Regions from separate parts of the Homo sapiens genome. Here region 2 is linked to region 1. Evidence: promoter capture Hi-C in 16 types of primary human blood cells and fetal thymus (Javierre and others, 2016). All regions are on one chromosome and are shown on one strand. Each heading gives the region's core, a stretch centred on a gene start or on the middle of the fragment in contact. The rest is flanking DNA. Distances are from core to core; before and after follow the strand shown.

Region 1 (3,645 bases), core at 855-3,354:
TCTTCAAAGGACCGTTTTTCCCCTCCCCCTTTAAAAAAGAAAGCTAGGAGGAGGCAGTATAGTGTTGTAATGAGCCAGACTGCTTGGGGTTGAGATCCTAGCTTTGTTTTTATGTAGCTGTATGACTTTAGACAAATTATTTAATCTATCAGTGCTTATTTCATTTGTAAAATGAAAATAATAGTACTTTTCTCATAGGACTGTTAAGGAGATTAAATGAATTAATATCTGTAAAGTACCTAAAACATTGCTGGGAGTGTAGTAACTGCTGTTATCTAAGAGGCCTTATTTATTCTTTTTTTTTTTTTTTTTTTTTTTTGAGACAAGAGTTTCGCTCTTGTTGCCCAGGCTGGAGTGCAATGGCACAATCTTGGCTCACTGCAATCTCTGCCTCCCGGGTTCAAGTGATTCTCCTGCCTCAGTGTCACGAGTAGCTGGGATTACAGGCATGCACCACCATGCCCAGATAATTTTGTATTTTTTAGTAGAGACGGGGTTTCTCCATGTCGGTCAGGCTGGTCTCGAACTCCCAGCCTCAGGTGATCCGCCCGCCTTTGCCTCCCAAAGTGCTGGGACTACAGGCTTGAGCCACTGCGCCTGCCCTAAGAGGCCTTATTCTAAAGTCAAAAGAACAACCTGGATTTGAGTTCCCCAGCTCCATAATTAACTGGCTGTTATTTTGGGTCAGTCTTAACTACTCTCCTCATCTGTAAAAATGGGGGTGGTCTGGCCAGGCGCGGTGGCTCACGCCTGTAATCCCAGCACTTTGGGAGGCCGAGGTGGGTGGATCACCTGAGGTCAGGAGTTCGAGACCAGCCTGGCAAACCTGGTGAAACTCCATCTCTACTAAAAATACAAAAATTAGCTGGGCGTGGTGGTGGGCACCTGTAATCCCAGCTACTCGTGAGGCTGAGGCAGGAGAATCACTTGAACCCTGGAGGCAGAGGTTGCAGTGAGCCGAGATCATGCCATTGCACTCCAGCCTGGTGACAGAGCGAGACTCCGTCTCAAAAAAAAAAAAAAAAAAAAAATGGGTATGGTTCAACATGCATTGAGTGCTGGCATTGTGCTTCTAGACTGTGAACTTGAGGTTGGGGCCATTTTCTCTGAGTCCCCAGCACCTTGCATAATGCGATATAGGGTGTACAATAAACATGTGTTGAATTTATAAATATTTAGCATCTGCCTTATGCCTATAATTGATTAGTACTGTGATACAAAGATGAAAAATGAAACAGGTATGTAATAAGTGCTACAATAAGGATGTCGACAAATGCAACGGTAGCAAGAAAGACAAAAACAGGACTAACCATTGGGTTTGGTCAGATGATTTCATAAGCAAAAAGTCTACCACTAGTGGAGAGTGGGGCCACCAGTCAGATTATAGTGAAATATAAGTGGTCGTGTTGCATAAAGCATCAGTCTCTCTCTCTCTCTCTCTCTCTCCCTCCGTCCCTCCCTCCCTCCCTCCATCTCTCTCTCTCTCTCTCTTTCTTTTTTTTTGAAACAGTTTCACTCTTGTTGCCCAAGCTGGAGTGCAATGGCGCAATATCGGCTCACTGCAACCTCCGCCTCCCAGGTTCAAGCAATTCTCCTGCCTCAGCCTCCCGAATAGCTGGGATTACAGGCACCCACCACCACACCCGGCTAATTTTTGTATTTTTAGTAGAGATGGGGTTTCACCAAGTTGACCAGGCTGGTCTCCAACTCCTCATGTCTGGTGATCCACCTGCCTCGGCCTCCCAAAGTGCTGGGATTACAGATGTGCGCCTCGGTGCCTGGCCACATCAGTCTTTTTTTTTTTTTTTTGAGACGAAGTCTCGCTCTGTCGCCCAGGCTGGAGTGCAGTGGCACAATCTCGGCTCACTGCAACCTCCGCCTCCCGGGTTCAAACGATTCTCATGCCTCAGCCCAACGTTAGATTGGTTTTTCCGAGCCTGTGAACTCCATGGGGTCGCCAGATAAACGCAATCCCGGTGGACCAACGCCCAGGACAGACGCTACGTACCAACCCTGTGTCAAGCCGCAGGCAGCGGTTCCGGACTCTGGGACTTAACCTAACGTGGCGGGGCGGGACTTCCGGCGGGAGGCGGAGGCGGAGGCGCAGGCGCTGGCTGGCAGGTGTCGCTAACCGGACGGTGGTCGCCAGGGCGAGAGGCGGGAGCCGGAGAGGTGAGGCAGGACCCGGGCTCCACTGCCGCCTCTCCGAGCTCTTGTGACGCGGACCTCAGTGCCAGGATGGCTCGGGGCGAGCGGCGGCGCCGCGCAGTGCCGGCAGAGGGAGTGCGGACAGCCGAGAGGGCGGCTCGGGGAGGCCCCGGGCGACGGGACGGCCGGGGCGGCGGGCCGCGTAGCACGGCTGGAGGAGTGGCTCTGGCCGTCGTGGTCCTGTCTTTGGCCCTGGGTATGTCGGGGCGCTGGGTGCTGGCGTGGTACCGTGCGCGGCGGGCGGTCACGCTGCACTCCGCGCCTCCTGTGTTGCCTGCCGACTCCTCCAGCCCCGCCGTGGCCCCGGACCTCTTCTGGGGAACCTACCGCCCTCACGTCTACTTCGGCATGAAGACCCGCAGCCCGAAGCCCCTCCTCACCGGTAACCGGGCCCCAGGGCGGGCAGGCAGGCGGACTCCTAATCTGGGCGCCCCAGCTTGAAGCGAGAGCAAGGGTGGGAAGGAATGGATCAGGAGAGTTATGAAGAGGGATGACCCGGAGACCCGGAGGGACAGGTCCCCTGCTCTTTGACTTACGTGGCCATTCTACCCCCAGGACTGATGTGGGCGCAGCAGGGCACCACCCCGGGGACTCCTAAGCTCAGGCACACGTGTGAGCAGGGGGACGGTGTGGGTCCCTATGGCTGGGAGTTCCACGACGGCCTCTCCTTCGGGCGCCAACACATCCAGGATGGGGCCTTAAGGCTCACCACTGAGTTCGTCAAGAGGCCTGGGGGTCAGCACGGAGGGGACTGGAGCTGGAGAGTGACTGTAGAGCCTCAGGTCAGGGCCTCAGGACACCCTTTTCTCAGCCCAGACCCCCTCCATCCTTCCCTTGCTGCCAGCAAATGCAGCATGAAGTGGGCTCTGGCTGCCTGGCTTAAATCCTGCCTTAAACAACTGCCTGTATAACCATTTCTATTTACCATCTCTAAGCCTTGATTTCCTTGCTTGTAAAATGTACAATGTAGATAATAATAGCACTTAACTCACAGGACTGTAAGAATTAAATGAAAAAGAGGCTGGGCGCGGTGGCTCACGCCTGTAATCCCAGTACTTTGGGAGGCCGAGGCTGGCGGATCACCTGAGGTCAGGAGTTCCAGACCAGCCTGACCAAAATGGAGAAACACCGTCTCTACTGAAAATATAAAATTAGCCGGGCGTGGTGGCGCATGCCTGTGATCCAAGCTACTTGGGAGGCTGAGGCAGGAGAATTGCTTGAACCAGGGAGGTGGAGGTTGCGCTGAGCCGAGATCGTGCCATTGCACTCCAGCCTGGGCAACAAGAGCAAAACTCCATCTCAAGAAAAAAAAAAAAGCCAGGCGCGGTGGCTCACGCCTGTAATCCCAGCACTTTGGGAGGCTGAGGCGGGCGGATCATGAGGTCAGGAGATGGAGACCATCCTGGCTAACACGGTGAAACCCGGTCTCTACTAAAA
Region 2 (3,645 bases), core at 469-2,968, 210 kb after region 1:
TGAGTCACACTCTGTCCCCAGAGTGATGGGGAGCCTAGAGGACTTTAACTCTTTTTCCGTTTGTGCCAAGAATACTCACTGGCGGTGCTTGCGGCTGCAGGCTTTACCCTGAGATAACTTTTCCCCACGAAATGTCTCACTTTTATTATTATTTTTGCATTGCTCTTATATGTTGACTTTGGAAACAAAAGACATCATTCTACTTAAAGCATTCTGTTTTTAGTTGTGGCATTTCCATTTACAAAATACACTAACTCTCAATCATTGAAAATATCAAATCCTAGAAAACTAGCATTCCTACGAGTGATGCTAACATCATTCTCGAACAGTTTTTGGCCTAAGATTCATTTGATGAATCCAGTGTTTCCAAAATAGATGATTCTGATCATTCCAATGATTCCAATGTTAGTTCTTTTTAGAAATAATTCTAAGAATAATTTTTATATTGCATTTTCACATTGAAAATCAGTCAGATTTGCTTCGGCCTCAAAGAGTGTGTTTATGTAAAATTAAATGAGTGCTGGCAGTGAGCTGCACTTTTTTTTTTTGCCTAAATGGGAAAGGGTTAAATGTGAGCATAGTCCCATCGAATCTGTAAGTCAGAAAGCACACTCTGGAGACAGTGTGAAGAACACGGCCTGAGCCTCCAAGGGCGAAGGGCTGGAAGTAAAAAATGGTTATGAAATATCTGAGCTCCTTGGACTGGGCTCTACAAAGGTTTTCTAATATGTATGATGTGTGGAAAACTGAAAACAGAAAGGTTAAGTAACTTAACCGAAGTCCTACAAGCAAGAATATGGAGACCTGGCCTTCAGATCCAAGAGAGGCTGTCTTCCCCCAGTGCCTGCTGTGTCCCATTGTGCCATATTTTACCAATGTACTATAGTCTCATTCCAAAAACTGAGAGTGAGTTGGCAGTGGGAGATGTGGTTCAAAGGGATTCCTTTAAAAACTAGATGTGATATGCTCCCAGGCATTTCAGAAACAGACCCGATCTTTCTTTTCTCCCTCCTCTCTCCTCGCCAGCTCTTCAGTGACGTGGCCTACAAAGCCCGCAATCGGGAAGATCTGATCGCAGGAATTGATGAATTTCTGGATGAGGTCATCGTCCTTCCTCCTGGAGAATGGGACCCAAATATCCGGATTGAGCCCCCCAAGAAGGTGCCCTCTGCTGACAAGAGGTGTGTATGAGAATGGGCAGTAGGGAGAGAAAAAGGAGGCTTCAACTCTGTCGGTATCATTTTATTTCTCTTTAAAATACATCTGAGGCTCAGCATAGTGGCTCATGCCTGTAATCTCAACACTTTGGGATGCTGAGGCAGGTGGATCACTTGAGCCCAGGAGTTTGAAACCAGCCTGGGCAACATAGTGAGATCTTGTCTCTACAAAACAAAAATCAAATTAACTGGGCATGGTGGCATGCACCTATAGTCCCTGCTACTCTGGAGGCTGAGGCAGGAGGATTGATTGAGCCCAGGAGGTCAAGGCTGCAGTGAGCTGTGATCATGCCACTGTACTCCAGCCTGGGCAACAGAGTTTGACCCTGTCTCAAAATAATGTTTAAAATAAGTTTAAAAATAATAAGATATATCAGAAACAAATATGGCTAAATGTGAACATTTGTAAAATCTAGGTGACCTGCGTGTGGATATTGTTAGACAATTTTCTGCATTTTTGTCTGTCTTTTAAGATATTTCATAATTTTGGTTGGAGAGGTGAGGGGTGCTCTGGGGGACCCACTCTCCTTCATCCCCCTTCTCTTCCAGGAAATCTGTGTTCTCCCTAGCAGAGCTGGGCCAGATGAATGGCTCTGTGGGAGGAGGCGGCGGAGCTCCTGGAGGAGGCAATGGAGGTGGTGGTGGTGGTGGCAGTGGCGGCGGGGCTGGCAGTGGCGGGGCCGGCGGAACAAGCAGCGGGGATGATGGAGAGATGCCAGCCATGCATGAAATCGGGGAGGAACTTATCTGGACAGGAAGGTGCCCACCCCAGGCCTCCCAGTGACCCTGCTGTCCTTTAGACTTCTCCCTTCTCAGCTGCCCTCTAGGGACTTTTCCCAACCATGGTCTGTAGTGCCCACTCGAGGTCACCCCTGCCTTCTTTCCCTCCCAGAGCCCTTGAACCCCATCATGGATCCCCAAAAGGTTGCCTCAGGAGAGGGGAATTTGAGACCCATACAAGAGGAGAGGAACCCAAACTTTTCTCTTAGATATCCTTTGGTGCCTGTTTCCTGGGTCTGCTGTAACAAAGTACCACAAACTAGGTGGCTTAAAACCACAGAAGGTTACTCTCCTGCAGTTCTGGAGGCCAGGAGTTCCACAGCAGGTGTTGGCAGGACCACCGTGCTCCCTGAGGCTCCAGGTGGAATCCTTCCTGGCCTCCTCCTGGCTTCTGGTGGTGGCCAGCAGTCCTTGGTGTTCCTGGCTGGCAGCCGCATCACCCCCGGCTCTGCCTCTCCACCACATGGCCTCCTGTGTGTCTGTCTTCACAGAGCACTTTCCTCTTTGTGTATGGACCCCAGTCATGTTGGAATAGGGCCCACCATAATGACTTAATCTAAACTGGATTACATTTGCATAGGTGTTACATAGATGTTAGGACCTTAATATATCTTTTGGGGGGACACAACTCAATAACAGTACCTTTTTTAAAACTTAATTTACCTATTCAAAAACTTTTTTTTTTTTTAAAGAAAATAAGAGAAAGTTCTCCTGGCCTGGGTTTCTTTTCCAGCTCTTGGAGTCATTCAGGTTGATCTAGATTTAGGAAAGGATGTGGCCTTGAAAATCTACATATAAATCATGACTTTGAGAATGAAGTCATGTTTTATATGCCCTTGGCTTTATACCAGTGGTTCTCACTGTAAGCAGCTTTGGCCCTCCTTAGTCCCCCTACCCCCGAGCCCAGGGAATTTGGCAATGTCCAGAGACATTTTTGCTTGTCACAACCGGAGAGGGGAGATGCTACTCGCATCTAGTAGGTAGCTGCTAAACATCCTGCAGTGCATGGGACAGCCCCTGCAGCAAAGGAGTATCCAGTCCAAAATATCAGCAGAACTGAGGTTGAGAAACTCTGCTCCATGCTAAGGACTGCATTAGGGGCTATGGGAATAGCAATCCCAGTAAACAGTGTCTCCAAACCTAAAATCTTCCACTCAGCTGTTCCAGATAGCAAAATCAAAAAACAAACAAATACCAACCAGTTATAAGGTTTAGGATCTGTTCTTAATGAATCTGTTATAATCTGGGATGCTTCTGTCACCGAAAGTTAGACACTCCTGTGTTCACCAAGAGCAGGCACCCTGCAGATGGTCAGGGATGTGAGGAGGACCACCATCTGTGGACCCCAGGACTTCCATTCTCCATGGAATGTTAGGTCTACCCCAGGACATATTCCCATCAGACTTTCCCTCTCCAAAACCCTCTATGTCCACCCTTCCCAATGTGGGTGGTGCCAACCACAAACTCAGTCCTACAGGAATTCATCCCTGGCCCTAAATGTTCTGGTGGAAAGATCTTTGCCCCATCCACCCTGGTCAAGTTCCTTTCCTCGCCCCAGACTCTGCAAGTTCTTGTAAATAGCCCTGCCCCTGCACTGGTGTTAGTGGTGAGAAAGCAGCCCCTGGGCCTGTCTTGAGCAGGTTCTTCG

What was found. The method cuts DNA at HindIII sites, captures the fragments that hold promoters and counts their contacts. A CHiCAGO score of 5 or more calls a contact.
Region 2: a contact is called between a fragment that was not itself captured here and the fragment with the promoter of MOGS in region 1, in 1 of 17 cell types (naive CD4 T cells). The highest score is 6.0, in naive CD4 T cells.

What each region holds. Positions count from the first base shown.
Region 1 is chr2:74,463,841-74,467,485 of GRCh38, reverse strand. MOGS (mannosyl-oligosaccharide glucosidase) reads left to right here and starts at 2,104. Exons shown (of 4, transcript NM_006302.3): 1 at 2,104-2,590; 2 at 2,764-2,990. The coding sequence starts at 2,239. RefSeq lists silencers at 1-124, 2,318-2,537. The HindIII fragment of the contact is 14,256 bases long and covers 1-3,645 here.
Region 2 is chr2:74,250,510-74,254,154 of GRCh38, reverse strand. SLC4A5 (solute carrier family 4 member 5) reads left to right here. Exons shown (of 31, transcript NM_133478.3): 15 at 1,027-1,181; 16 at 1,767-1,976; 17 at 3,638-3,645. Among named protein-coding and RNA genes, the nearest start is that of MTHFD2, 54 kb to the right of the region's middle. RefSeq lists an enhancer at 3,574-3,633. The HindIII fragment of the contact is 4,323 bases long and covers 1-3,645 here.